Regions from separate parts of the Homo sapiens genome. Here regions 2, 3, 4, 5, 6 and 7 are each linked to region 1. Evidence: promoter capture Hi-C in 16 types of primary human blood cells and fetal thymus (Javierre and others, 2016). All regions are on one chromosome and are shown on one strand. Each heading gives the region's core, a stretch centred on a gene start or on the middle of the fragment in contact. The rest is flanking DNA. Distances are from core to core; before and after follow the strand shown. Region 1 holds the start of OR5C1 (olfactory receptor family 5 subfamily C member 1). Region 2 has its middle 18 kb from the start of PTGS1. Region 3 holds the start of PTGS1 (prostaglandin-endoperoxide synthase 1). Region 4 has its middle 52 kb from the start of OR1J1. Region 5 has its middle 33 kb from the start of OR1J1. Region 6 has its middle 9.6 kb from the start of OR1J1. Region 7 has its middle 3.2 kb from the start of OR1J2.

The links. The method cuts DNA at HindIII sites, captures the fragments that hold promoters and counts their contacts. A CHiCAGO score of 5 or more calls a contact.
Region 2: a contact is called between a fragment that was not itself captured here and the fragment with the promoter of OR5C1 in region 1, in 1 of 17 cell types (naive CD4 T cells). The highest score is 6.5, in naive CD4 T cells.
Region 3: a contact is called between the fragment with the promoter of PTGS1 here and the fragment with the promoter of OR5C1 in region 1, in 10 of 17 cell types (naive CD4 T cells, total CD8 T cells, endothelial precursors and 7 more). The highest score is 8.6, in naive CD4 T cells.
Region 4: a fragment that was not itself captured here is called in contact with the fragment with the promoter of OR5C1 in region 1 in 7 of 17 cell types (total CD8 T cells, activated CD4 T cells, naive CD8 T cells and 4 more); the score reaches 7.8 in total CD8 T cells.
Region 5: a fragment that was not itself captured here is called in contact with the fragment with the promoter of OR5C1 in region 1 in 1 of 17 cell types (endothelial precursors); the score reaches 5.2 in endothelial precursors.
Region 6: a contact is called between a fragment that was not itself captured here and the fragment with the promoter of OR5C1 in region 1, in 8 of 17 cell types (endothelial precursors, megakaryocytes, M0 macrophages and 5 more). The highest score is 12.1, in endothelial precursors.
Region 7: a fragment that was not itself captured here is called in contact with the fragment with the promoter of OR5C1 in region 1 in 6 of 17 cell types (endothelial precursors, M2 macrophages, M1 macrophages and 3 more); the score reaches 12.6 in endothelial precursors.

What each region holds. Positions count from the first base shown.
Region 1 is chr9:122,786,909-122,791,184 of GRCh38, reverse strand. OR5C1 (olfactory receptor family 5 subfamily C member 1) reads right to left here and starts at 2,252. Exons shown (of 1, transcript NM_001001923.1): 1 at 1,290-2,252. The coding sequence starts at 2,252. The coding sequence ends at 1,290. The HindIII fragment of the contact is 2,532 bases long and covers 1,139-3,670 here.
Region 2 is chr9:122,351,349-122,355,624 of GRCh38, reverse strand. No RefSeq gene overlaps it. Among named protein-coding and RNA genes, the nearest start is that of PTGS1, 18 kb to the left of the region's middle. The HindIII fragment of the contact is 920 bases long and covers 1,669-2,588 here.
Region 3 is chr9:122,369,231-122,373,506 of GRCh38, reverse strand. PTGS1 (prostaglandin-endoperoxide synthase 1) reads right to left here and starts at 2,483. Exons shown (of 11, transcript NM_000962.4): 1 at 2,416-2,483; 2 at 2,235-2,321. The coding sequence starts at 2,422. The HindIII fragment of the contact is 9,806 bases long and covers 1-4,276 here.
Region 4 is chr9:122,423,783-122,428,058 of GRCh38, reverse strand. No RefSeq gene overlaps it. Among named protein-coding and RNA genes, the nearest start is that of OR1J1, 52 kb to the left of the region's middle. The HindIII fragment of the contact is 849 bases long and covers 1,291-2,139 here.
Region 5 is chr9:122,442,851-122,447,126 of GRCh38, reverse strand. No RefSeq gene overlaps it. Among named protein-coding and RNA genes, the nearest start is that of OR1J1, 33 kb to the left of the region's middle. The HindIII fragment of the contact is 2,196 bases long and covers 785-2,980 here.
Region 6 is chr9:122,466,189-122,470,464 of GRCh38, reverse strand. It overlaps a transcript of OR1J2 not described here. Among named protein-coding and RNA genes, the nearest start is that of OR1J1, 9.6 kb to the left of the region's middle. The HindIII fragment of the contact is 4,683 bases long and covers 132-4,276 here.
Region 7 is chr9:122,505,446-122,509,721 of GRCh38, reverse strand. It overlaps a transcript of OR1J2 not described here. Among named protein-coding and RNA genes, the nearest start is that of OR1J2, 3.2 kb to the left of the region's middle. The HindIII fragment of the contact is 3,029 bases long and covers 934-3,962 here.

The DNA of each region.
Region 1 (4,276 bases), core at 1,003-3,502:
GTAACATCTAGGAACTTTTATATTACTACTATTTTGAGATAGGTCTTGCTCTGTTACCCAGGCTGGAGTGCAGTGGCACAATCACAGCTCAACGTCAGCCTCGACCTCCTGGGCTCAAGTGATTCTCCTGCTGCAGCCTCCCCAGTAGCTGGCACTACAGGCGTGAACCACCACGCCTGGCTAATTTATTATTATTATTATTATTATTTTGAGATGGAGTCTTGCTCTGTAGCCCAGGCTGGAGTGCAGTGGCGTGATCTCGGCTCACTGCAAGCTCTGCCTCCTGGGTTCACACCATTCTCCTGCCTCAGCCTCCTGAGTAGCTGGGACTACAGGTGTCTGCCACTGCGCCCAGCTAATTCTTTTTTTTTTTTTTTTGTATTTTTAGTAGAGACGGGGTTTCACCTTGTTAGCCAGGATGGTCTCGATCTCCTGACCTCGTGATCTGCCTGCCTTGGCCTCCCAAAGTGCTGAGATTACAGGTATTATTATTATTTTTAACTTTTAAGTTCAGAGGTAGTACATGTGCAGGATGTGCAGGTTTGTTACACAGGTAAATGTGTGTCGTGGAGGTTGGTTGCACAGATTATTTTATTACCCAGATATTAAGCCTAATATCCATTAGTTTTTTTTTTTTTTGCTTCTCTCTCTCGTCCTACCCTCCACCCTCCGATAAGCCCCAGTGTGTGTTGTTCCCCTCTATATGTCCGCATGTTCTCGTTGTTTAGCTCCCACTTATAAGTGAGAACTTGTGGTGTTTGGTTTTCTGATCCTGTGTTAGTTTGCTGAGGAAAATGGTCTCCAGAGCCATCCACGTCCCTGAAAAGGATATCATCTCTTTCTTTTTTGTGACTGCATAGTATGCCATCATGCCCAGCTTATTTTTAACAATTTTTTTTTTTTGTAGAGATGGTGGGGGGGTCTCCCTGTGTTGCCCAGGCTGGTCTTGAACTCCTGCCTTGGCCTCCCAAAGTGCTGGGGTTACAGGCATGAGCCACTGCACCCAGCTGAATATTGAAGAATGTTTTGAATGTTGAAGAACCTGAGGCAGTGCAACAGAAACATTAGCCTGGTCTAGCGTCTGGCTCTAGGTCTAGCCCTAGATGAACCCCAAATCTTTTTCTCCCTGCTATAAGCTTTCATTTCCCTCTTTACTGTCCCTTAAACAATGACATGAGACATCCAAGCCAGAGGAACATCCCATCTTTACCGACAGTGACGGGGCCAGAAAGAGGCCCCGACCTTCCTCATCCCCTCATAGTCAGACCTACCCAGCCTCCCTGGACCAATCACTGGGACCCCTGCCCTGGACAGTGGAATCGGCTCCAGGTCTGCCTGAGGGCCTCCTTGACCTCCTTATTGCGGAGGCTGTAGATGAGTGGGTTGAGAGACGGGATGACCAGGGTATAGAACACAGAGGCCATCTTGTCAGTGTCCAGGGCATAGCTGGAGCTGGGGCGCAGGTACATGAAAATGAGTGTCCCGTACATCATGGCCACGGCTGTGAGGTGGGAACCACCGGTGGAGGCTGCTCGCCGACTGCCCTCGACCGAGCGCATGTGGATCACAGCCCCAGCGATGAAGCCATAAGACACCGTGATAGCTAACACCGTGGCTGTCTGGATGAAGCCACAGATGGCGAAGAGAAGGAGTTCATTGAGACTGGTGTCACTGCACGAGATGGCCAGCAGTGGAGGGATATCGCAGAAGAAGCTATTGATCTTCCGGGAGCGGCAGAAGCTCAGGCGGAAGGTGAGGGTTGTGTGAACAAAGGCACTCACTGCCCCACCCAGGCCTGATGCTCCCAGCAAGGCCAGGCATAGACGCTGCGACATAGCTGTTGTATAGAGAAGTGGGTTTCTGATGGCCACGTAGCGGTCATAGGCCATGGCTGCCAGCAAGCAACACTCAGTATCAGCCAGACCTGCAAAGACAAACATCTGGAGGGCACAGGCTGTGTAAGGGATGGTGGCTCGGGGCAGCAGCAGGTCCACTAGCATCTTGGGGCCGATGGCGGAGGAATAGCAGGCATCCAGCAGGGAGAGGTTGGCCAGGAAGAAGTACATAGGTGTGTGGAGCCGGGCATCCATGCGGATCAGCAGCGCCATGCCCATGTTTCCCAGCAGGCTCACCAGGTAGACAGGCAGGCAGGTCAGGAAGAGGGCCACACGCAGGTCCCAGCGATTTGTGATGCCCAGGAGGACGAATTCAGCAGGGGCAACCGCGGCCCGGGTGAGGTTCTCTGAGTTCATCCTACTGGACAGAGACTGAGAAGAGGCAAAGCAGGAGGGAGATAAGAGCAATGGCAAGGCCATGGCCAGGGAGAAGAAAGCATCCTGTACTGGGAGTTAGGTAGGCTTGGGTTTCAGCTCACCTGTGCAACAAAATTGCTGTGACCTTGAGCAAGCCACGTAACCTCTCAAAACCTGTTTCTAACTCTTAGAAGTCATTGCAGAAGCCTTTTTTTGTTTTTGAGATGGAGTTTTGCTCTTGTTACCCAGGCTGGCGTGCAAAGGTGTGATCTCAGCTCACCACAACCTCCGCCTTCTGGGTTCAAGCGATTCTCCTGCCTCAGCCTCCCAAGTAGCTGGGATTATAGGCATGTGCCACCGTGCCTGGCTAATTTTATATTTTTAGTAGAGATGGAGTTTCTCCATGTTGGTCAGGCTGGTCTCGAACTCCCAACTTCAGGTGATCCGCCCACCTCAGCCTCCTGAAGTGCTGGGATTACAGGCATGAGCCACTGTACCCGGCCCGTCTTTTTTTCTTTTTTCTTTTCTTTTCTTTTCTTTTTTTTGAGATGGAGTCTTGTTTTGTTGCCCAGGCTGGCGTGCAGTGGTGCAATCTTGGGTCACTGCAACCTCCGCCTCCTGGGTTCAAGTGACTCTCCTACCTCAGCCTCCCGAGTAGCTGGGACTACAGGTGCCCGCCACCATGCCCGGCTAATTTTTGTATTTTTTAAGTAGAGGTAGGGTTTCACCATGTTGGTGGTCAGGCTGGTCTTCAACTCCTGATCTCAAGTCTGCCTGCCCCAGCTTCCCAAAGTGTTGGGATTACAGGTGTGAGCCACCACGCCCAGCCTTTTTTTTTTTTTTTTTAAAGAGACACAAGGTCTCACTATGTTGCCCAGGCTGAACTAAAATTCTTGGGCTTAAGTGATCCTCCTCCCACCTCAGCCTCCCAAGCAGCTGGGATTATAGGCATGCTCCACCACACCCACAGGGGTCTTGTCCCTCTTATTCACTTTTGTGTCTACAGCACTGAGAGCATTGCCTAGCACATAGCTGGTGCTCAAAAAAGATTTGTTAAATGAATGAATGGGATGATATTTAGTGTCCAGCCAATGATTGAAAACTTTGTGACTCTATATGCATTCTCCTCTCCAGTTTTCCAGGTAAGAAAAGAGACAGTGGAATGAGCAGAAATAATCTTCAGATCCAACGGGCACCTGGCCATGGCTTTTGAGGTTTGCTAGTAGGGACATCTTTCCTTTGGAGTAAGATCGGAGAAAGGAGTAGCCTGGTATCTTGCGAAAACAGTGGGGAGTAGAAAGAACAGAAAATGTGAATATATTCCTGAGCTGAATTCTTGGCCTCTCTGAGCCTCAATGTTCTCATCTGGATAATGGGGGAAAGCTGCAAGGATTCGATGAGATAATGCATGTAAAGCTTCTCACACAGGGCCTAGCACACGCAGGCATTTAACAAAGGCCCTGCGAATGGAAATAAATTGAACTGGATGCTCTGGCTCCAAACTGGAAGGAAGCAACTTTATGGCAATCAAAAGTAGTATAATTCCCAGAAAATGCAATGTTGCTTCACACTCCTGTGCCTTGCATTTGTCCTCTTTGCCTGGAACCCATTTCCTCCTTTTGTGTTTGGTAAAAAGTTTCTCCAGTGTGAAGCCTTCCCTGATCTGTCCCTTAAAACTAAACATTTTTCTTGTCTGTGGCCTGCTGCACTGGAGCATACAGTAGTTCCCCCTTATCTATGGGGAATACGTTCCAAGACCCCCTGTGGATGTGTGAAATCACAGATCGTACTGAACCCTATATATGTGATTTTTTTCCCTATACATTCATATCCATGATAAAGCTTAATTTATAAATTAGGCATAGTAAGGGATAACAACAACAATAATAACATAGAACAATTATAACAATGTACTATAATACAAGTTAGGTGAATATGGTCTCTCTCTCTGTCCCTCAAAATATCTTACTTTTATATATATATATATATATATATATTTTTTTTTTTTTTGTTTTGTTTTGTTT
Region 2 (4,276 bases), core at 879-3,378, 440 kb after region 1:
GCTCAGAGTTCCCAGGAGCCAGCCTGGGCCTTCCCCAGAAGGATATCTGAATACAGAAAAGGAGAAGAGAAGGCTGTGGTCTGTGTGGTGGGCAGAGGAGAAGCTGGGAGTGGGTGGGGTGGCTGCGGAACTCGGCTCTAGGCCCATGGACAGGCACCACTAGGACCCATCCTGACCCAACCTCCAGTTCCCTCCCCAACCTTTCTCTGAGCCCCAGCTTCCTGCCTTTCTGTAGGGGGTGCCTCAAGTCATTGAGCCCAAACCTCCATTCAACTGATCTGGAGACTGAGGCCTACAGCTGAAAGAGTTTGCCCAAGAACACGAAACAGAGAAGGAGCTGGAATCCAGGGCTCCTGGCCCCCAGGCCAAGGTCCTTCCCCAGTTGGCTCTCAAGATGGAGTTTGTTTGAGGCCCTGATTTCTGCCCCATCTGCCCAAAAGGTCAAATTCAGGCAGCCCACCCCCAACCCAGAGAGCGTCTTGTTTCTCAGAACCCACGAACTCAGGCACTGGAGGGAGCTGGGAATCTCAGAACCCTCACTCTGAGCCCTCACTCCGAGCCCTCCCTCCTTCCTCTTCCTTCCCTCTTCCTTTGGCTCCTCTGCAGACCTCTGGCTGGACTGGCTCTTCCTTCCTCTTTCCCCAGAACCCTCTCCCCACCCCCAGCAGCACTGGGGATAGACAGAGAGGAGGGATCTCAGCCCAGGCCTGGACCTTGAGGCACATGGGCAGCAAATGTGCAAGGCAAGAGTTCATTTGCTGCCACCCCGTCAGGCAGCCTGCGTTCTTGGACACAAGAAACTGAAATCCACCTCCCCAGCCTCCTGCTGGCCCTGCTGCTGCTCAGGGCCCACAACACAGGTCATTTTCTCTGCCCAGTGGGCCCTCAGAGTCAGGCAAGCAGCAATCACCCTCCCTGCCAACATCACTGTTTCCAGAGGCTACAAGCTCTCGGAGGCAAGCTCCTCCAAGAGGCATGAGTTCCGCCTCGGCCCTTACTAGCTGTGTGACTTTGAGCAAATCACCTTGCCTCCCTAAATGGCCAAGCCCTCATCACTAACATGGAGATAATTGTATGCATGGGCTTTAAAGGAGAAAAGAGATAGCATGGATAAGCACCTGGCACAGAACCTGGCATTTAAATGGTTAATGTCATTATGAAGTAGAGGAAATGTCCCTCTTCTGACCATGGCTTTTCACCAGATTTGTATCATTTATTTTCAAATCCTTTCTGAGTCTAATCTAGTTTTTAAGTTCTGTCCTATAGCACAGAGTTCAAAGTTTAACTTAATAACCAGTTCCTGGCTGAGCGCAGTGGCTCACGCCTGTAATCCCAACATTTTGGGATGCTGAGGTGAGTGGATCACCTGAGGTCAGGAGTTCGAAACCAGCCTGGCCAACATGGTGAAACCCCGTCTCTACCAAAAATACAAAAATTAACTGTGCATTGTGTCATGCACCTGTAATCCCAGCTACTCAGGAGGCTGAGGCAGGAGAATCACTTGAACCCGAGAGGCAGATGTTGCAGTGAGCTGAGATTGCGCCACTGCACTCCAGCCTGGGCAACAGAGGGAGACTCTGTCTCAAAAATAAAAATAATAAAATAACCAGTTCCTTAGTGCTTACTTTGTGCCGAGCACCTGGAACAGGGAAGAATAAGACAGAAGCTTCTGTGCCCACAAGGTACCCACACTGTGATGGGGGACACAGACATTGACCACTGACCAGGCAATGACCATGGGATAAGTCCTGGGAAAGAGGAGAAGAGGAGGCAGGTGAGGTACATGCAGGGCACCTAACTCAGTCCCCAGGGTCTTCCCAGAGAAAAGGTGTTCGTAGCAGAGAAGACAGTAGGTGCAAAGGCCCAGAGACAGAGAGTTCCCCTTTAGAGGAACTGTGAGAAGTAGATTGCATCTCAAGTGGATAACAGCTAGTACAGTTGACCCTTAAACAATGCAGGGGTGGCGAGGCACGGTGGCTCATGCCTGTAATCCCAGCACTTTGGGAGGCTAAGACAGGTGGATCACTTGAGGTCAGGAGTTCGAGACCAGCCTGGCCAACATGGTGAAACCCTGTCTCTACTAAAAATACAAAAATTATCTGGGCATCGTGGCAGGCACCTGTAATTCCAGCTACTCAGGAGGCTGAGGCAGGAGAATCACTTGAACCCAGGAGGCAGAGGTTGCAAGGAGCCTAGATCATGCCACTGCACCCCAGCCTGGCAACAGAACTAGACTCTGTCTCAAAAAAATAAAAATAATGCAGGGATTAGGGAAACTGACCCCCATGCAGTCAAAAATTCACATATAACTTTTGACTCCCCAAAAACCTAACCATTGATAGCCTACCGTTGTCCAGAAGCCTTACCAATAACATAACAGATGATTAACACATATTTTATATGTTATATATATTATATGCTATATTCTTACAATAAAGTAAATTAGAGAAAAGAAAATAGAGCCCCAATAAAAACTCTGAACACTGAGCTCAGATGCACTTCCTCAGTTGGCAATACTCCACAGATATTGTCACATTGATTCTAGGAGAGTGACACATTCTGATTCCATGGGAAGGACAATGGAAGCTTTACTTCATGTTTGAAAGAAACCCCCCTGGGCTCTGCCCTATACATCTCTCCCTTTGGCTGATCTTAATCTGTATTCTTTCCCTGTAATAAACTATAACCATGAGTATAACGGCTTTCAGTGAGTCTTGTGAGTCTTTCTAGCAAATTACGGAATCTGAGGGTGGTTTGGGGAACCTCTTGAACTTGTAGCTGGTATCAGAAGTGATGGTGGACAGGCATCGTGGCTCATGCCTGTAATCCCAGCACTTTGGGAGGCTGAGATGGGTGGATCACTTGAGGCCAGGAGTTCGAGACCAGCCTGAGCAACATAATGGTACTGTGTCTCTACAAAAAATAAAAAATCAGCCTGGCATGGTAGTGCATGCCTGTAGTCCCAGCTATTCAGGAGGCTGAGGTGGGAGGATCACGTGAGTCCAGGAGGTCAAGACTGCAGTGAGCCATAATCATACCATTGCACTCGAGCCTGGGTGATAGACTGAGACTCTGTTTCAAAAATAATAATAAACAAATAAATGAATAAATTTTAAAACTTTAAAATTTTTTGTCCAGGCACAGTAGCGCACACCTGTAATCCCAGCATTTTGGGAGTCCAAGGTGGGCAGATCACTTGAGCTCAGGAGCTCGAGACCAGCTTGGGCAACATAGTGAGACTTCATCTCTGGGGGAAAAAAATTAACACAAAAAATTATTTTTTAATTTTTTAATTAAAAAAAATTTTTAAGAAATGAAGGTGGGCCGGGCACAGTGGCTCACGCCTGTAATCCAAGCACTTTGGGAGGCCGAGGCGGGCGGATCACAAGGTCAGGAGATCGAGACCATCCTGGCTAACACGGTGAAACCCTGTCTCTACTAAAAATACAAAAAAAAAAAAAAAAAAAAAGCCAGGCTTGGTGGCACGCACCTGTAGTCCCAGCTACTTGGGAGGCTGAGGCAGAAGAATCACTCACACCTTGGAGGTGGTGGTTGCAGTGAGCCGAGATCACACCACTGCACTCCAGCCTGGGCAACAGAGCCAGACTCCATCTCAAAAAAAAAAAAAAGAAAGAAAGAAAGAAATGAAAGTGGTCTTGTGTGGAGTCTCTGCCCTCTAACCTTGTAGTTGGCCCAACTTAGCACAATTTCTTATGTGATATTTCAGTTAATAGTGCCTCTTAGGCACTATTATCATCAATCCCATTTTGGAGATTGGGAAAATGAGATAAGGAACCTGACTGAGGTCACACAGTTATCAAATGACAAAAGCGAAATTTAAAAGCAGATACCAGCAGGGCTTGATGGCTCACGCCTGTAATCCCAGCACTTTGGGAGGCCAAGGCGGGAGGATCATGAGGTCAGGAGATTGAGACCATCCTGGCTAACAGGGTGAAACCCCATCTCTACTAAAAAAAAAAAAAAATACAAAAAATTAGCCAGGCGTGGTGGCAGGCGCTTGTAGTCCCAGCTACTGGGGAGGCTGAGGCAGGAGAATGGCGTGAACCCAGGAGGCGGAGCTTGCAGTGAGCTGAGATTGCGCCACTGCACTCCAGCCTGGGCGACAGAGTGAGACTCCATTGCAAAAAAAAAAAAAAAAAAAAAAAAAAAGCAGATACCCAGGCACTAGCATCTACTCCTGTAACCACTGTGCTATGCTGCCCAGCTAGTGGGGGAAAGAGGGGGCTTGTGGGAAGCAGAGCTAGAGGGTTTGTAA
Region 3 (4,276 bases), core at 1,234-3,733, 420 kb after region 1:
GCCTTGCCTCCAGGCTGGCCTCCATCTCCTCACCCACCAGAGAGGCAAAAGCAGCATTCTCTCCCTCCGCCTGCCCTCTTAGGTGAGTGCAGCCCTCATCTCTTCATCTCCTTTGCCTCTAGAGGTAAAAGACAGGCTTTGGCTTCCTGGGGCAGATGCCCAAGTAGCTTGGCCCTCAGTTTACTCGCAGACTTGGAAATATGAGGGCAACCCAGACCTTCTGCCCCTGCACTCCACCAGTCATTCGTTCTTTCCTAGATCCTTGCAGGAGCCTCGGTACCAGTTTTCTGGCCTCCAGTCTCATCCCCACATTACGCATCCAACCTCAGCCTCCTGCTCCACATTACCCTTACGGTGTTTCCTGGTCGAGTCTCTTAGTGTTTCCCCCACCCGCCACCTCCTTCGAGGTCCAGTCCAAAAGTCATCAGATCCAAGAAGCCTCCCTCAATTCTTCGCACTGAGAGGCAGCTGCTCCCTCCCCTGAGCTCCGCACACCCCTGCTCCCTTCCCTGGGCTCCCTATACCCCTGCTTCCTCCCATGAGCTCCGCACAGCCCTGGTCCCCTTGGATGACAGTCTGTTGGCATTTCTGGCTCCACCATCAGCCTGTCAGCTCCTCCCAGCTCCGTGTCTCCAGGCCCCAGCCAAAGACTGGCATAAATAACCCTTGGGGATAAAAAAAAACAATTCCGTGTAAACATTTATTATACAAAAGGAAACAGAAAAGGCAAAAAACAAAATAGCACAGACCATGGCTCATTGTGCATTAGTGAATGGACTAAAAAAGAATACAGACGGGTGGGACCTGTATACCAAGAGTGCCTGGATGAGGCCAGATGGGGCCTCAGAGGAAGTGCTGGGCTGATCCAGGGACTGACAAGATGGGTCAGCGAGGCAACCTGAAGAGCCCCTTCTACTCCCCACCACCAGCTCACTGTGAGGATTCAGACAAGTGGCTTCACTCCCTCTGGGCCTCAGAGTCCCCTTCTGTAGACTGGGTCTAACGCATCTCTCTGGCAGGGCTGTTGAGAGCACCAAAGAGGTGGATGTCCACAACCAACCTTTGTAAACTTTAAAGTGCTGGCCACATGAGTCTTCCTCCTCCTCTTCCCATAAACCAGACTTTTATTCAACGCAATCCCTTTCCTAGAGCACCCTCCGTCCTCTCTTTGGGTCCCCTAAATGCCACCCACCCAAAGCCCGTTTCAGGAAACTTGGTCTGATCCAAAATCCATGTACATATCTTTCCTCTTTCCCCCACGCACCAGATCCTTAGAGCATCACAGCAGAAAGTGCGGACTCCCTCTGCTCCCTCCTGCCCTCTCTGGGCCTCATTTTAGAGATTTTACACAGCTAGGTGGTGGAGGAAACTATATCCAACTGGGACACATGCTCACACACACGCACACACACAAGCAGCGAGCTGGGGGAGGAAGGTTGGCTGAGCGAGGAGCTGAATTCCTTCACCTGGAACCTGGCACATGCATGGGGGAGGGAAGGGCGGAATTTCCCCATCAACCTCCCCCATGAAACCCAGAGTGGCTCCGGGTCCATTGTGGGTAGAAGCAGCTTTCTGTGGAAAGACCTTGCGAAGTGTGTGGACGCAGACAGACCTGAGTTCAGATCCTGGGCCCACCATGTATTTTGTGAGCTTGGGGAATCATGGCACCTACTGAGCCTCGGTTTCCTCATTTGCTCAATGGGGATCTCTTAAACCCCAGATGAAGCATCCCGGCTCCTAAATGTATTTCCATCTCCCATGTTCTCCCGAAGTCTTCACCAGGGGAGACCTTCTCCACTGGCAATGGGAATCAGGATGGGTTCCCAGACGGTTAGAGGCTGGAGAAAGGGAACTCATTTCCCTTGGTGCCTGCGGCTTCCTCCCAAAGAGGCCCCTATAGGAAACAGCGGGGTTGTTGGGTGCAGAGGCTGCTTAGACATCTGGGGCCCAGAACAGGTGAGGGGGATGGATAGGGACTGTCCCTTCTCCCCAAGTTGGCACCAGATCCCAGTCTGCTGTTTCCCCTGAAAGAACTAGATAGCCCATTAGCCAAGGCCACACCGCCGGGGGGGCTTCAGGGAGCCCCCATCCCACCAAAAGACTCAGCCTCAGTCTTTCTCAGCACCGCGAGCAGAAAGGGGAAGCTGGGCCCGCTGGAGGGGAAAGGAGGGGGTTGAAACCAGGCCAGGGGCGCAAGACCGGGGATTCCCTTGGGGAGGGATGGGGCCGCCTACCTGGCGTGGGCGCCCCTGGGTCCGCGAGCAGGACGGGGAGCGGCGGGAGCAGGAGCAGGAACAGCAAGAACCAGAGCAAGAGACTCCCTGCAGAGGAGAGAGATGAGGGGCTGAGCCTGGCATTCAAGGCTCCACCAGGAGGCCAAGAAAATTCCCCACCGGGCACCGGGGTCGCACTCACGGCTCATGGCGCGGCTGCTGGGGTGCGGGACGCAGAGTGCAGGCTCCTGTGCGTGCGCCTCGCACACTGCCCGGAGCTCCAGCCCATCCCCTCCCCACCCTTCCCCCGGCTCCACCCCCGCTCCTCCCTCCAGCTGTCACCTCGGCTGCCCGCTTACTTCCTCTGCCCAGCCCCGGCCAAGGCATTTTATTAATTAGTGTATGCTCGCCGCTAAAGCGGCTTTTCACCCAAGATCCTTGAAGCACTTACGTTTCTGATGCCTGGTGGCACTAGATATAGACAGGAAACTGAGGCTCAGAGACGATGCTCAATGCTGAGGTCACCCAGGGCTTAGGGACAGAACTGGGGATGGAAGCGGCTCGTCTGAACCACATACCCTGCCCCGCAGAGAAGAAAGGGTCTCAGAGTCCCCTTCTGTAAAATGGGTCTAACGCACTCTACAGAAAAGGGTAGAGAAGAAAAGGGGCTAGAAACAGGGCAGTCTGCAGAGAAGAAAGGGGGCTAGAAATGGGGCAGTCCAGCCTGGCCTGCTGATGGTTTCCTAGATGAGAAACTCACTACTCCTCAGACAGATCTAACAGGAAGGACTTACTTCCCCCATGGGCTGGGCTCCGCCCCCTGAAGCCACAGGTCTCTGCCAGAAATGAAAAGACCGGGCTCCAAACTCCAAGAGAGCCTAGTTCAAATCCAGACTCCACAGCTTACTGGCCGTGTCACCTTGGACAAGGTACTTATCTTTTCTAGCCCTCAGTATTCTCATCTATAAAATCGGCTTAATAGCAAAAACCATCCCAGAGGGTGGTTGTAAGATTCAATGAGGGAATGCACACAAATCTCCTGGTGCAGTGTCCAGCATGTAGTAGGTGCTCAGTTATCGGAAGGCATTTTTTCAAAGATCTCTGAACTCAGATTCCAGGGCTGGCCAGGGTCCATGCTGTAGCTAGACTCACATCCACCGCCGAATTTATAGAATCCCAGCATCCAGCTCTCCTTTTCGCCAGCTCAGGAAGCACCTAGAAGGAGGAAGGAATAGGTCCAAGATCACCCAAAGTCCCATGGTGCTGGCACCCACAAGTCATCTCCCTCAGTTTCCCCAGCACACCCAGCCATCCTGTGGGCCCCACAGTGGGGAAAGCCGGCAGGAGAGCTCAGAGGTTCTTGTGCTGGCTCCTGGGCATCACTGGGTGCAGGGTAGAAATTATGCCAGGTGGGAGAGGTGAAACCTGCTGGGAAGCCCCTCCCCCATTCTCACCCAAGCTGTTCCCATGCTCCCCTGGGACAAAAGCCAGCTGCCCTAGGGAGACAGAGCAAGCCAGGGCAGACCTGGAGAAGGAGTGGGGCATTGGAGGGCCCTGGGGCTCTCAGGGTGCCGGGACCGGCTTCAGCCTTCCCTTCCTCCCCAAATCAAGGGCCCCCTAGCATTTACAGGGCAAGGAGATGGGATTATCAGCAAAAGGGATGGGGACAGGGTGGAGGTGTGGGGGTCCAGTTGTCCAAAGAAAGGGGGAGTTTCTGGTGAGAAGAAAGGAGAGACGGGCTTGAATGAGGTTCCATCTTCCACTCCCAGGCCCTCCCTCCCTTTGGGCCCTGAGCCCATCAAGTCACCACACCTGTGCCTCCTGCTGACTTCCAAGCCACCCATCTGCACTCAAAACAAGAAACACTTGTGTGGCCCTGGCACTGATGGGAAGAGCCTTCACCTCAGAATCAGAAGTGAGTTCAAGTCACTTCTTCCATAGCGTGACCTTAAACAAGCCGCTAGGCCTCACTGGGCCTCTGTTTCCCCATTTGAACAACAGAATGAGCAGATCAGATGGTCTCTGAGGACTGGTCCAGTTCCAGCATGGAGCAATTGAGCCCT
Region 4 (4,276 bases), core at 466-2,965, 360 kb after region 1:
AAACGCAGATATTCTAACTACCTCCTTCCCAGAGGCTTAAAAAACAAAGATTATCACCATGGTTTTAAAAAGTTCCAACTAAATGCTTTCTACAAGAAATATAAATTAACCTAAAGATAGAGAAGAGTACTGGGAACAGAGCCAATTCTGCAGGGTTGTTTTTTTTTTTTTTTTTCAGTTCATGCATGAAAACTTCATTATGGACAAACACTGATCCACAGACTAACACTTGAGATGCCTTGGTGTAGAATACACTGGAATCTGGGAGTTCATTCAAAAGTTACGTAGTTTAAGGTTAAGATTTTATTTGGGTCCTGGAACACGTTCGGTGGGTGCTGTCTCAGCTCACCTGGAAGCAGATGTCTGATGGCCTTATTTCTAGGCACAAGTCCTCATTAGTCTCCTCAGCTTTATAAAGATAATAATAATATCATTTATTGAACACTTACTATACTCTTGTTATTGTGTTACATACTTTACTTGTGTAAACATATTTAATCCCAACGACAACCCTACAAGACAGATACTGATGTTATTCACATTTTATAGATGAGAACCTGGAGACTTGGTGAAATTTTTAACTTGTTTATTACTGCACAGTTAGTTGAGTTATGGAGTTAGAATCTGAAACATCTGTCTGACTGAAAGCCCTGCACTAAATACTAGTGTGTTGTTTGATTGCCAACTCTAAATAGGATTCACCTCTACTTGATTGATAATAGACACCAGCCGCAGCTTAGGTATCAACGAGGGACTATTAGTTGGTGGTCACTGATACTCAGTGTTTACCAAAAGTTTAACTAAAAGAAAATATATTTAGGGAAGCTTGCTCAAAGGACATGCAGGTCATCCATACCTACCTGCAAGACTAAAATCCAATATGTTGTCCACCCAAACCACTGGAAATCTGAGCACCTAGACAGCATTCTTTTTGCCTCTGAGCTATTGTTTACTGTGAATTTTTACACCCCAATTTGATTGCCAAAGCCTACATTAAGACGGATTAAAAGAAACCCCATGCAATGTGTCTGTTCTTAGAACCGCAGATGATATAATTTCACCTAATCAAGTGGTTTATTTTTACTTTTGGTCCCAGTGAACTGTGTGACTGACCAGAAAGCCTGAGCCAAATCTGAGGCCCACCCATAACAACAGTCATCATAATCTGCATTTTCAGAGTCATTCCTGGCTCAATTTTATGTCTCCACCCTTGTTTATCCCCCCTTTTGTTCTTTTTCTAACCTCATTTTCCATTTATCTTATCTTGTATTTTATACGTATTTCCAAGCTTCCTTAAATTCTTCAGGAATAAGACTTGGCATAAATATAAATAAATTTGAGGAAATCTACCAAAATGTAGAAACAGTGGTTACCTCTGGATAGCAAAAGTATAGATTTTTTTAAATCTGCATCTTCATAAAGGATCTCATGCCCTGACCATAAACATTCTTTCTTTTATAAGTATGAAGACATATTTCTAATTACAGATAAACTGTAAAATTCTAATTTTTTGTTATGAATATTGGTAAAAATGTAGTCCATTAATAGAGACTGAAGGTAAAGACGGTGATATTCATCAGGAGAGAGACTATATAGTTGATTTGATGTATCAAATTGGCTGAGCCATGGTAACAAGGTGTTTGGTCAAACATTATTCTATGTGTTTCTGTGAAAGTGTTTTTTTGGCAATTCCTGACCTACTGGTTCAATGAAATCTCAATCAAAATTCTATTGGGCTCTTTTGTAAGTTGAAAATTTTAAAATAAAATTTATATGGAAATGGCAAAAAACCTAGAAGAACCTAAATAACTTTGGGGGAGGAAAGAAGACCCACACCATGCAATTCAAGACTTACTAAGCTATAATAATCAAGACAGTGTACTTTTGGTTTTAAAGCTCAATCAAACAAGAGTTCAGAAATAGATCTACAGTTATATGGTCAATTGATTTTTGACAAAAATTCCAATGCAATAGAGAAAGGACAGTTTTTCAACAACTGATGCTGGAACAATTGGATATCCATATAAAAAAATCAATCCTTAACTCACACCATATATATAAATTAATTCAAAATGGATCATGGACTTAAATGTAAGAGCTAAAACTGTAAAACTTATAGAAGAAAACAAAAGAAAAGCTTTGTAACCTTGGATTAGGCAAATAATTTTCACATAAGAAACAAAAAGCAAAAACCATAATAGAAAAAAACTGCTAAATTCAGCATCATCAAAATTTTAAACTTCTGCTGTTTGAAAGATACTGTTAAGAGAATGTAAAGACAAGCCACAGGCTGGGAGAAAATGTTTGCAAAACACATACCTAATAAAGACTTTATCTAGAAAAAAGAACTCTCACAATCAATTATAAGACAAATAGCTCAAATAGTGGGCAAAGGATCTGAACAGACACTTAATCAAAGAAGATATACAGATGGCAAATAAGCACATGAAAAGATGCTTGACACCACTGGTCATTAGGGAAATGCAAATCAAAACCACAATGAAATACCACTACACATCACTAAAATGGCTAATACCAAGCTCTGGTGAGAGAAGCACCTGGAAATTGTATCCATTGCAAAATGGAGCAGCCCTTTTTGAAAACAGTTTAGCAGTTTCTTTAAAAGTTTAACACATACCTACCATACAACCCAGCAATCCTATCCCTAGGTATTTACCCAAAAGACAAGGAACCATATGTTCACACAAAGAACTGTATGCCAATGTTTAGAGCAGCTTTATTCACAGTAGCCAAACAGTGGAGACAGTCCACCAATGATGAATGGATAACCAAATTGTGGTACATCCATATGCAGCAATAAAAATGAACGAATTACTTATATGTGCAACAACTTGGAAGAATCTCAAAAAAAGTATGCAAAATCAAAGAAGCTGGACCAAAAAAAGGCTACATCTTATATCATTCTAATTGTATGACATTCAGGAAAAGGAAGCAGGAAATCAGATCACCGTTTGCCTGGGGCTAGGAGTGGCAGAAGGATAGTGACTACCAATGGGTAGGAGAGAACTTTTGTGGCAATAAGAATATTGTGTATCTTCATTGTAGTTGTTACATAACGGCATACTGTTGTCAAAACTCATCAAATGGAATACTTCCTATGAATAAATGCTATTGTTCATAAATTATGCTTTAGAAAACTTAATTTTAGAAAAAACACTTTGTAGAAAATAAAAGTTATATTTTAGAACTTAGGCTATGGAAAGATTTTCTAAATAAGATCAAAATGTAGCAAAAACAAAATATTGATAAAGTTGGCTCACATTAAAGCCAAAATCTTTGCAATAATCTGACTACAAGACTATGTGAACTGGTCCTGTGGCCATTCTGACCTCAGCTCCTGCCCCTCTTTATTCATTCAGCCCAGTCCAGCCATACTGGTCTGTTATTCCTTAAATACATCAGGTGCACTACTACCTCAGTGCTCTCACCAATCTCATTCTATAATGTTATGCCTCCTTCAACACAGAGGATATCACTGAGGTTGACTATGGCCATGCAAGACCCATCTCCCCCAACTTGGTCCCTCAATTCTAGGTGTCATTCCCAATCAGACCCAGGTAGGTCCTACTTTTTGGACTTGGAAGGGGGGCAGACGAGCCTGAGAGAGAAGTGCCTGTTTCTCCAGTATTCTGAATTGGTGACAGCCAAAGGCCGTGTTTCCAATGAAGATACTGATCCATGGAGAGACTACGCTTAATTTTTAATTACTGCTCCCTTAGAAGAAGACAAACTTTTAACCACATATGCCACTTAATTAAACCACAGAGATCTTCTCTGCATGGCTAATTACTATTGAAGCAGATGAGCCAGGAGATTCTCAAATGAAGTTTCTCTGGGGCCTCGTTAACAAGAATGGAGCACACCCCACAGAGGCAGCTACATGCGCACTGAAACTTTTCTGATATTTTACACTCAAAGCCTCCTAGCTTCCTCAAGAGGTTCTGATCACCAACCAATACCATTATCAAAAGCATCTTCCCAGCTGGACCCTGCCTAACTCCCTAGCCTCATTTCTCTTCATGATCTATCATTCTCTCTATTCCCAGAAATAACAAATAGGTTTCATCTCTTACCCTGCCACTATTTAACTAAGAGTAGCTGCCTGGAGTGCTAAGTTGAGAATGATTCAAAGGTTCAAATCAATCCCCATGAGAAATAATGCTCTGTGATAGATTAACAATGTCTGCCATGAATGTGGAATGGGGAGATTGTAGTGTGAAAGCTATATATTCTCCATCTCTGCCCTATACCAAAT
Region 5 (4,276 bases), core at 633-3,132, 340 kb after region 1:
GAAAGGAATGTACTTATTAGGACCCACTGTTTTACTGGGGCCCATTGTGAGTGTGAAGTTTGGTGGTTACCCAAGAGACTTTCCCCCTCTCTCTGTGCCCAAGCTGTCTTATCTGTGTTTTACCGTCTGCTCTTTCTGGCTGCTTATTGTTAGAAGATAAGTGATTTCCTTGAAATGCATGAGGTTAGAAAGGGAGCTGGAACTTAAAGTGGAGCTGTTTGTCCAAGATAACAGTACTCCTGCTCTGTCAGAGGCCAGTAACTGGAAGGAGCTGGAGGGCCACTATTGCAACTAAAACTGGAACAATTCTTAGAGTTTCCCCAATAGATAAATCATGTAAAACTATTCTTACTACATGCTGAAAATTCAGCACTTAAAGAGCCCCCGACATTGTCAATATCCCGAGAATCCAAAGAACCTGATAGAATTTGTAAACCAACATAACTCTAATCTACCTTCATCACTTGTCCCTGGACTAGCATAAATACACACACACACACACGCACACACACACAACCAAGCCACACTATTCCATTACCTGAAAACTATTGTCCCCCAATATTAAGCTATCCCATACCAAAAGACAAAATAGCATTTCACTTTTATAGACATCCCTCATATTCCAAAATACTCACTCCTGTTCCTCAACCTGAGTTACCTACAAATGGGGAAGCTGAGTCACACCTCTGAGATATGACCATGAAAGCTCTGGGAATATTCTCAGTACTAGGGAAGAGGCAATGACATGCTCCATCTCCTTGGGCTGTCCTTTGCTTGCTAAGCTTGGAAAAGGTTGACCAGGCATGATGGCTCACGCCTGTAATCCCAGCAATTTGGGAGACCAAGGCGGGTGGATCATTTGAGCCCAAAAGTTTGAGACCAGCCTAGGCAACATGGCAAAACCCTGTCTGTACCAAAAAAAAATGCAAAAATTAGCCAAGTGTGGTGGCACATGTCTGTAGTTACAGCTACTCAGGAGGCTGAGGTGAGAGGCTCACTTGAGTCCAGGAGGCAGAGGTTGCAGTGAGCGGAGATCACTTCACTGCACTCCAGCCTGGGTGACAGAGCCAGACTCTATCTCAGAGAAAAAAAAAAGAAACAAACAAAACAAAACAAAACAAATTGGAGAAGTCATAGAGCAGAGTTCCCTGAGGGAAGAGCTGGGAGAGAGACTACCCTGTTCCCTTGGAGCACAAAGGGCCCTAAGGAGGCCTGGCAAAGGAAGGTTAAAGCATTACAGTTGGGACAGGGTCTCCAGACCACACAGGTCCTCACTCAGTGGTTCTGGGTCACTCTGTCTGCTAGGATGGGAAGTTAGGATGGTGCTGGGGACCAGAGGTGGGGAATGAGTCAGGGATCTGAAGCAGTATCAGGAAAACCTATGACCACTGTCACTCTGCTTCCCTCTTCTTGTATCCTTGTTCTCCCCTAGGGAGTTAATGAGTGGGAAATGTCAGGTGGCTGGAGCCTTCAGCTGAAGTGTGGTTTCTGAATAAATTTGCAGACACAGTGTGGAAAAGGCTTCTGCTTCTGGACAGTGGAAATAAAACATCTGGACACAGGAGGCGCCATGACTAAATAGCCCCGTCTATCATGTATGCCTTCCTCACTGCCCTCCATGGGAGAATGGTGGGTTCCAAAATGTCCATGAGTCAAACATGGGCAAAAAATCACTCTGAGTGTTTTGATAAGACCCCAGTGAATCAGGAAAGGCTTATTCATGTGTTATTGTCCAAATGAACCCAATGAAATCAAGCACTATCCATGTGTACAGAAAGGAATGAGGGGTCACTATGACTAAACCTCTGATTTTTACATGTTTGGTTAATCTAAGTGCAGACCAGGCAGGCTTCCAAGATTTAGCTATGACTGGTTACTTTACTAAAATATTTTCTCTTCCTCATAGTATAAATACTAACATTTGGGGATGGGGATGTTGACCACCTGCTGGGCATTGTGCTTTAACATGCTTTTGTTCAGCAAATCTTCTCAACTTTGAGATAGGTACTCCCATTGTCCCCACTTCACAGATGGAGAAACCGTGTCACAGAGAGGTTAGGTGACTTGCCCTAGATCACTTGCCTGATAAGAGGCAGGACCATATACCTAAAAAGTGGACCAGCACCCATTCTCTTAACCTCCATGCACATGACCTCTATTACAGGCAAACCATTTACTCTTTTCATGGAGAAGCCAAGAAGTCCAGGTACCAGTCTTGACTAACAATAAAAATGTCAGGATAATTAAGGTTCTTCCTCCCATCATGCTCCAATTTCTCCCTTCTTTAAAATGATCCTAATGGATCTCTAGGAATTTCTCCAACTCAGAGTCCCTAGGAGTCTGTTTTAAAGTTGAAGCTGTAAGAGACCAAGAGGCACCTTCAAGGAGAGGGGTTCCCGCCATTCTGGTTGGTCTCTGTCCCATCTGTAGTGACTTAAATGGAATGCTGCTCTTTAGATAGTGGCTTGAGGTCTGTTGCATTTCTTCTTTACATCTGTTCATAATTATAAATGTCCATCTAAGCATTATTTCATCTCGAAAATATTTATCAAGGGACCATTGTGTCCCAGGCACCATGCCAGGTGGGATGGGGTAACAAGGAACCAGACACAGTTCTTGTATTCAGGCAGCTCACAGTCTAGTGGGGAAGACAGTGTTGTAAGTACTGATTTAGTTCCAGGTCGTGTGTGTGAGAGGGTTGCCTATCGTGGAGGAACATCAGGAAGGCTTCCAAAAGGATGCAATATCTAATCTGAGGCAAAGGGTGAGGACTAATCACCAGGGCTAACAGAGAGAGGGAACGGGCATTTTCAGGCAGATGGAATAGTAAGTCCCTAAGGCAAGAAGCAGCAAGAAATATTTTACAATGGGCACATGGAATGCAAGAAGTCAGGGAGAAAGGCAAAAGATGGAGCAGAGCCCAGCAGGAGCCCATCATGGGAAGGAGATTAGCTTTAAGTCTGCAGGCCATGGAGAAGCTTGTGCAGCACAAACATCACTGTTATGGCTGAATTGTGCCCCTTCCAAAAAAAATATGTTGGAGTCCTAACCCCTAGTACCTCAGAATGTGGCATTATTTGGAGATGGGCCCTTTAGAGAGATAATCAAGTTAAGATAAGGTCATGAGGGTGGGTCATAATCCAACACGACTGGTGTCCTTATAAAGAGGAGAAGTTTGAATACAGAAACAGAAACACATGTGCATAAAGGAAGGCAATATGAAGAGACACAGAGAGAAGACAGCTATCTACAAGCCAGAGAGAAAGGTTCAGAACAGATCCTTCCATCACAGCCCTCAGAAGGAACCAATCCTGACAACACCTCAATTTCGGACTTCCAGCCTCCAGAACTGTGAGACAATACAAATACACTTCTGTTGTTTAAGCCATTCTGTTTGTGGTACTTTGTTACTGCAGCCCTATCAAGATAATACAATGATGTATTCAAACTTGCATTTTATAAAAACTGATTTGCCTACAATGTAGAGAATGGATTGAAAGGGGGCCGTCATCTCTGCAAGGAGCCTGGTTTGGAGACAAGACATGATAAAGGTCTCCATAAGGGCAGGAAGAGCTGACATGGAGAGAGGTGAACAGACTGAGAGACGTGGGAGAGGCAGAATCTCCAGGATGTGACCATAGGTTGGGTGTGGAAAATCAGGACTCAAGGGCCATGTCCAGTCCATGTTTGTAGCTCAGATAAACCTGTGACCAGAACACAGACTAGTCAACCACCTCATCAGGAATCTTAGACACAAGTTCTATACAAATAGGCAAGTCAGGAATACACTGCATAGTCACTACTTTCAGCTTTACACCCAGTTATTCTGGCTTTTGCCAGGAGGTGCCCCTAGCTTCAATGCCAGGTGTGACTTCATTTTTTCAACAAATATTTAGTGGCCACCCACGATGTGCCAGACATAGTACTAAGCTCCAGGAATATAGTGGTGAGGTAAAGGAAACAAGATCCCTGTGTATTAGGTCAAGGAGATGACAAATGTTAATCATATTAATTAATGAGTAATTATAAATCATCATACGAGTTATAGAGGAAGGGAACAGAATTCTATGAGTGCATATAACAGGGTGCCTTATTCCAGAAAAGTGATGGCTGAGATGACATCCAAAGGACAACAGACAAGTAGGAGAAGCATCCTGGAAGAGGACATCATGAGCCAATGTAGGTAGCCAAATTTATCCTTTGATAAATGCTGATTAGCTCTTCTTCCCATGCCTACTTTCCCCAGGGGCTTCATCTTGCTTCTTCAATGTGCCAG
Region 6 (4,276 bases), core at 1,224-3,723, 320 kb after region 1:
AGCAAACTTCTGCCTGGGCATCCATGCATTTCCATACATCTGAAATCTAGGCAGAGGTTCCCAACCTCAATTCTTGACTTCTGTGCACCCACAGGCTCAACACCACATGGAAGCTGCCAAGGCTTGAAGCTTGCACCATCTGAAGCCATGGCCTGAGCTCTATGTTGGCCCCTTTCAGCTACAGTGGGAGTGGCTGGGACACAGGGCACCAAGTCTCTATACTGCACACAGCATGGGGACCCTGGGCCCTGCCCACAAAACCATTTTTCCCTCCTAGACCTCCAGGTCTGTTATGACAGAGGCTGCCACAAAGGTCTCTGACATGCCCTGGAGACACTTCCCCCATTGTCTTGGAGATTAACATTCAGCTCCTCATTATTTATGCAAGTATCTGCAGCCAGCTTGAATTTCTCCTCAGAAAATAAGATTTTCTATCCTATGACATTGTCCGGCTGCAAATTTTTCCAAACTTTTATGCTCTGCTTCCTTTTTAAAACTGAATGCCTTTAGAAGCACCCCAGTCACCTCTTGAGTGCTTTGCTGCTTACAAATTTCTTCTGCCAGGTACCCTAAATCATCTCTCTCAAATTCAAAGCTCCACGGATCTCTAGGGCAGAGGCAAAATGCTGCCAGTCTCTTTGCTAAAACATAACAAGAGTCAACTTTGCTCCAGTTCCCAAAAAGTTACTCATCTCCATCTGAGACCACCTCAGCCTGGATTTCATTGTCCATATCATTAACAATACATTTGTCAAAGCCATTCAACAAGTCTCTAGGGAGTTCCAAACTTTCCCACATTTTCCTGTCTTCTTCTGAGCCCTCCAAACTGTTCTAACTTCTGCCTGTTACCCAGTTCTAAAGTCGCTTCCACATTTTCGGGTATCTTTTCAGCAGTGCCCCACTTCCAGTACCAATGTACTGTATTAGTCCATTTTCATGCAGCTGATAAACATATACCCAAGACTCGGAAGAAAAAGAAGTTTAATTACACTTACAGTTCCCCATGACTGGGGAGGCCTCAGAATCATAGTGGGAGGTGAAAGGCACTTCTTACATGGTGGTGGCAAGAGAAAATGAGGAAGACGCAAAAGTAGAAACCCCTGATAAAACGACAGATCTCATGAGACTTACTCACTACCATGAGAACGGTATGGGGGAAACTGCTCCCCATGATTCAAATTATCTACCACTGGGTCCCTCCCACAACACATGGGAATTATGGAACTACAATTCAAGATGAGATTTGGGTGGGGACACAGAGCCAAGCCATATCACTTACCTGCTGCTTACATAAACATTGTCTTTCCTGTAGCAAGGAGTCAGGCTCAAGCGAGGGCAAACAGATCTGCCTGCTGGGCTGAAGTAGTTAATAGTAAATGAGCTGCTTTCACAATCTCAAAGGAAGTCACGACTGCACAGCCTGCACAATACTTGCCAGACTCATTCTTTAAATGTGAGCCATCTGTAAACCAGGACAACTCAGCATTGTCCACAGGAATTGCTCCCAAGGAATTAAAAGCTGGTCTGTCAGAGTTAAGCAGCCATGTGGTGTTTCATCTGATGGAGAGGTCCAGAGAGCCACAGGGTTAAGGTTATTGCAGCATGATTGAATAATATGATGAATAGTAAGTAGAAGAGGTTCATAGGAGGTTAGTCCGCTAGCAGAAAAATGCCAAGTGTGATGAGTGTGTAAAACGGCTTCCATGGCATGAGGAAAAAACACAGTCAGGGAGGAATCCCATGACTATCTCCTCAGTCGCCTTGACTAACAAGGATGCAGCGGGGACTGCTCTTAGGCAGAGAGGGAATCCACAGGAGATGGGATCCAGTTGTCAACTGTAGTATCCTGGAGGATGGTGTGGACCTCCATGCTTTTGGGTTAAGATCCCTGAAGTATTTTCTTCCTTTTCACAGACAAAGAGAAAAAAAAAAGAGTTTATGATTAGAATTACCTAGAACTGGAGAATTTATCAATTTCTCCTTTAGCTTTTTAAAAACTTACCCTTATGATTTTGTCCAAGTAATGGGGTCAGGTTTGGTAAATTTATGTAAAGCACATAGGAGTTGGGCCAGAAAAGAAAAGTTGGGAATTCAGTTTCAAAAGTAGCCAGTGAGTCCAAGAAACCCACTCACAAAGTTGGCATTTCTTTTGGGCTGAGGAAATTGTAAAATGCCTTGAATCTGTTCTGGTTCTAAATGTAATTCATTCTCTGAAATTAAATGGCTTTATTATTTCACCTGAGTTTTTACTCACTGCAGTTTTTCTTTACAGGCATTATGACCTTAAGCAGCCACTTGCTTTAATAGGTATACACTGTCTTTTTCACAGGCTGCCTGTGAAGGACAGCAAAGAAGGAAGTCATCTACATATTGTAGTAAACAAGAGCCTTGGAGAAAAATTACATCCTCTAAGTCTGCCTTTAACATTTGAGAAAATAGGAAAAACTTTCAGTAAACCCCTGAGGCATTAATGTCCAGGTGAACTGTTGGCCTTCCCAGGTGAAGGCAAGAAGATATTGGTTGGCTTGATCCCCTGGAATAATGAATAATGTAATACACAGATCAGTGATGGTGAAGAATCTGCTATCAATGGGTATTGGATTTAATACAGTATGGGGATTTGGAACCACTGGGTGCTTTGTAATAATACTATGGTTTATAACTCAGAGAGAGTTCCTGAACAAACCTCCTCCCATGGTTGTTTGGTCTTTTAGTAGGTAGGATCAGGGTACTCCAAAGACTGGTACAGAGAATAATGAGACTGTTTTTTATATTCTTTTATAATAAGTTTAATACCTTGCAGTGCCATCTGGTTTAGTGGCTGTTTAATATTAAGCAAGGGTTTTAATAGGTTAATCTGGATTTTAATAAGAGGTACACTATGAATTTTGAAAATATCAGTGAATGATTTTGCCTTTAAAGAGACAGGTATTTGATTCAGCACTAAATGAGTGACATTATTTTTGTTTTCTGAACAGGGAATGACATAACAAATGACAGAATTGGGGGAGTCTGTTGAGTGAGGACAGTTTAGTTTATCAAATTCTAAAATTATTTCCCCCTCTTGGGAAAAAGAAATTTTAGCATGGTATTTTTCAAAAAAATCACATCCAAGGTGGTGGAGCGGGGCAGAATTAACAAGCAAAAGGTGTGGGTGTCTTGGAGAGAAGACCAAGATGGAAAGAAATGGGCTGTGAAACAAAAGTAGTCAGTGGCTTTTTGGAAACTCACCATTTGTAATCTTTTTATTACTCTGAGGCAGGGGCTGACTGAGGCTAGGGGGATTAAGGATGAAAAATATTGCTGTGGCATCAATGAGCACAGTTAAGACCACACTCCCAGCCGGATGTGGTGGCTCATGCCTGTAATCCCAGCACTTTGGGAGGCCAAGGCAGGTGGCTTATGAGGTCTGGAGTTCGAGACCAGTTGTTTGAAGCCCAACAAGGTGAAACCCCGTCTCTACTAAAAATACAAAAAAATTAGCTGGGCATGGTCGTGGGCACCTGTAATCCCAGCTACTCAGGAGGCTGAGCCAGGAGAATCGCTTGAACCCAGGAGGCAGAGGTTGCTGTGTGCCGAGATCGCACCACTGCACTCCAGCCTGGGAGATAAGAGAGAAACTCTGTCCCCCGCCAAAAAAAAAACACTCCTAATTTGAAGGATCATTTCACTCAGAAAATTAAGTGGGAGAAGTGGGAAAATCCCCCATAAGTCCTTGGAGCCCCTTCACTGAAAGTGGTCTCAGATGGGAGAAGAGATGGGGGAGTTGGGAATGAAATTCCCCCTTTCTCTTGCAGCAATCTCTCTTCCAGCCATCTGGAACGTTGGCACAGCCCAGGGAGTCTCTGCCTAGTGTTATGTCTGGGAGCCTCAGTTTGCTGTAATTGTAACATTACGAATGTTAGTGGTTTTTAGTACTGTCCTCAGGGGTGCAGGCAAGGTGATTTGCCAGATTAACCAAATCAGAAGTGGACATAGTTTTCCATTCCATGTGTACTCTTTTGACAAGCTGAGAAAGTTCTTGAGAAAGGCCATTTGCAAACTTAGAATTACAGCCTACTTGAGTAGATTCGGCATCCATAGGTAATCCAGAATTTTCTACAAATACAACCCGGAGCCAACTGTAATAGTCGTAATCTGGTTCATTAGGTTTTGGGTACAGTCTTGGATTTTATTCATCTCAGGTTTCAGGAAAAGCCTCAAGAATAGCCTCATGAAGTTTTGTTGTTTTTGTTTGTTTGTCTGCTTGCTTGCTCACTGTGCTTCAGGCTCTGTC
Region 7 (4,276 bases), core at 1,199-3,698, 280 kb after region 1:
AACCTGCATCTCTCCTACATTTCCCATTTCTTTCTTGCCCTCCCTTTCCCCTCACCCTTGCCAACCTCTCTGTTCCAACCTTGTGGGAAGGCACATTTCCATTTAACGTCATTTAGACTTCTTCCCCTTGGTGGTTGTGGATTTCTTGTGATTCCCTGGCATGTTGAGAAAGTAAAGATCAGACTGGCTATGAGAAAATACTTTAGGGAAATTTATTTACGCTTTATTGTTTACTGTCAACACAAAGCAGTTTAAGTGACATTATCTTAAATTATATTCAAAGTGTGCATTTTCTAGTTCTTTTGCAATCCAGTCTCCCTTTCCTCCCTAGGCAATAACACTCATCCCATAACAAACTGTGAAGGCTATTATCAAAAGATGGCAAAAGAAGTGAGATTTTAAGTGTACTCCAAGTTTTCAGCTCCCTCTTGGGTACTCCTGTCATCTTAAAACACAACACCTCCTAGTCAGCTGTGGTAAGCAGAATAAGAACCCCCAAAGATGTCCACATCCTAATCTCCAGAACCTGTAAATCTGCTGTGGTGCATTCCAAGGTGGGATTAAGGTTGTAGATGGAATTAAGGTTGCTAATCAGCTGACTTTAAAATGGGGAGCTTATCCTGGATTATCTGGGTTGGCCCAGTGTGATAATGAGTGCCTTAAATGTGGAAGAAGACATAGAAGAGTCTGAATCAGAGACGTATTCGAAGATGTTATGTTGTTGGCTCAGAGGACGAAGGAAGGGGCCATGAGATAAGGAATGCAAGTGGGCTCTACAAGCTAGAAAAAAGCAAGAAAACAAGATTATGCTCTAGAACCTCTCGAAGAAATGCCAACCTCTTCAGTTTTAACCCACTGATACCCATTTTAGACTTCTGACCTCCAGAACTGTGATATAATAACATTTGTGAGGTTTTTCTAAAGCACTAAGCTTGTGGTAATTTGTTAAAGCAGTAATAGAAAACTGATACATCAGCACTGGAAAGACTTCAGGTATATCCAAATATTCTGGTTATCTAGGGACCAGAATGCAACAAAATCCATGTGTCCTTCCCCAGCTTCCATCTTGCATCCAACAAAACAAAGCAATCACTCAGCAGAGCTAATCCTTACCTAACCAGCAGGGAAATAAGGCTGCTATCTCATTGGAAGCATTTGTCACTAATCATAAATGAGACTCTATGCCATCCCTCTCCTACAAATTTCAATATTCCTTTAATAAGGAATATTCCTTTAATAAAATTTCCTTTAATAAGAAAAGGCAGAGAGTTAGAGAGGGCTCTTATCCATCCAATGAGCTTCTGGCCTAGAGCAAAAATTCAGCAGAAGACAAGTCGGTGGCAGGTTTCAAATCTTTCAGTTTTTAAATCTAGCTATATATAGACCTCAACCTAACTCCTTAAAGACATCCCCACCCTAACATACATATTGAGGTCAGTAAACACAGTGTTCCAAGTGTGCTAGGCTCAAGCATCTTCCTTTTCCTAATCTTCTCCTTTTCCTCCTCCTCCTCCTTCTCCTCCTTCTTCTTCTTCTTCCCCTTCTCCTTCTTCTCCTTCTCCTTTCTCTCTCTCTCTCTCCCTCTCTCTCTCTCCCCCCCTCACTCTCCCTCCTTCCCTCCCTCTCTGTCCTCTACTCCCACTTTGAAGGCAATGTGAGACTAGAGAAAAAGCCACAGATTTTGGAATAAGATAGGCTTGGTCATCATAAAACTTTGGTTGTGGCATTTTTGTCCATAGCAGGTCTCTTAACTCTTGCGAATCTCAGAAAGATGAAGATCTTTAAACAGGATGCAATTATACCCCATAAGGTTTTTGTAAGATGAAGTGAGATGACATATTTGAAACCCCTAGTACATTTGCTTGCATAGTGCTCAGCAAATATTGGTTTCCCTCCTGCCACAATTAAAGACAAAATGCAAATCTACCCAGAGAGGAGCCAGAGGAATTTACGTCCTTTTACACGCAGGAGAAAATTATTCATATTAATTCCTTTGCTGGACTCTGGGTGTGGATTCCTTAGACAAAGTTGTGGAATTGAGTATACAAACTGCTGGCAAACCAAGAGCACAAACATAGAACACATATGAGCACAGGGGGAAAATGATCATTCTACTGCTGGAGTTCTCATTCAGACAAGTGAGAAACAGGCACTACTTACCAGGGAGGGAAAACAAAAGGGAAATTCAGGAGAGAGGCTCGTTCTCACATAAGTAGCTTATATTCTGATGCCTAGCAGCTGAATGCAATGCCTTGGTGTAGACTGTATTTGGGGATAAGCTGGATAATTTATAAGGCAGCCAAGTGCCAGTCCTTCAGCAGCCTACCAAGACTCAAAGCCAATGGCAAGAGGATAACTGAGTGTTCAGCAAGATATAAAGAGATGACTTTGTTTACCCTAATCCCAGCCTCCTAAGTATTTTCCCCTTTAATGACCCTTTTTAACTCCATTCTTCTTTTCATCTTCAGGTGCCCTCTGATTGCTTCAAAGGTCACGACTTATCTGACAGTTCTGACACAAGCAAACATCAGGAACTAAACAAGTGACTCCTTTGGAGAGACGTTTGTCCTTATAAGGCACATGCATTCATTCAACAAACAGACCCTTGAAACCTACCACAGATAAGGCACCATATTTGTGTTGTCCTGAGTAAACAGAGAGGAATATGCTTGTCATCAAAGAAAAATTATCCCAAATGTTGGCAGTTGAATAATTTTTATAGCCAATGAAGGACACATTTTGGAAGTGTAGGAGGCCTTCCCAAAATTCCTGATTTAAACACCAAAACAACTTTGGAATGCTTGGATTCTTTGCTGTTCAGATCTGGTTTTCTATGTCAGGATCCAAGGCAGAAAAATATTCCTCCAGTATGTCAGTCTCTCTCTTCGTTCATCTTTTTCTCCTTTTGCCCCTTTCTCTCATCCTGTCTATGTCTGCCACTCAATATCTCTCTGTTCCTTCCTTCTCTCTCTTCCTCTGTCTCTCTGTGTGTGTCTTTTTACATTCTATCTCTTCTCCCCATGCCAACTGCTGCCTTCTGTTTCTTCCTCGTCTATATGCACTTATAAACTCATCTATTGCTGAGAGGGAAAAAATACCCATTCCATCTCCAGTGCTTACCTTCCCTGCATTTATGATCCAATGTTTGGTGGATAAGTGTTCCTAAGGTTCTCATTATGGGATCTAAAAACCAGCTTCCAAGATTCTAGACATTTCTCAGACACCAAGAATAAAAGCTACAAGTACAAACTCATTCCTGTTTACAGCCCCAGAGCTGTGAATCGAAGAGCTTAACTAAGGAGAAAACTCTAGGGAGTAGGAGATTGAACTGGTAATCTCCAGTTAAAGATATCCATAAAACATGGATTAATTGTCCAATTTTCCCCTTGATTCCACTGGGAAAGGTATTCTGTGGGAGGATATTTGTCCTGGGAACGTTAGAGGGTGAGTACACAAAGAAAATATCTCAAAGTACCCTCAGTCTCTCTTCTGTTCTACCCTCTGTTTTTCTAGTCTTAATCACACTTTGGATAAATCCTAGGGAGGTTAAAAAAAATACTGACTCCAATCATGTTTAAATAGAAGAAATCCATATGACTGCTGGGCTCTGAGAATTTAGGTAGAACCATATCCCACTCCAAGGGATCTTACTGAGTCCTACTCATCAGGTAGCCCAAAGGAAGTGACTTGTGTTTCTTCTCTCCGGTGAACATGAGGAAATACAGAAGGAGAAAGAGGCAGAGATCATCATCTTTTTCGAGGTTTTATTGTTTCATTGACAAACTTAGGTATGGTTATATCAAATAAAAATAGTTTTCAAGGAAGAAATGAAAAAAGGAGAGAAGGAAGAGAAGGGAAAGAAAACTAAATGAACAAAAACAAAAGAAAACAAACTTGCAAATAGAAAAAAAAAACAAGTTGACACGCAAAATCTAGAAAAAATGACTCAAAATTGAAAAGCTTCAGGTTCTCTGAAATTGATCTTTTGAGGAAAATGGTCATTTATCATGCCAATCGTGATTCTTAGGGGTGAAATATATAGGGATATAGGACAAATAAAGAAGTATTTATAGCTTGAGATAATAATGTTTGAGGATTTATTTTGGCCTTTTTCATATCTAGGTCTAAGACATCATAGATAAAGCAAAGTTTATGCTATGGTTTGAATGTCTGTCCCCTTCAAAACTCATGTTAAAACTTAATCCCCAATGTGTCAGTGTTGAGAGGTGGGCCCTTTAAGAGGTGATTGGGTCTTGAGGGCTCTGCCCTTATGAAT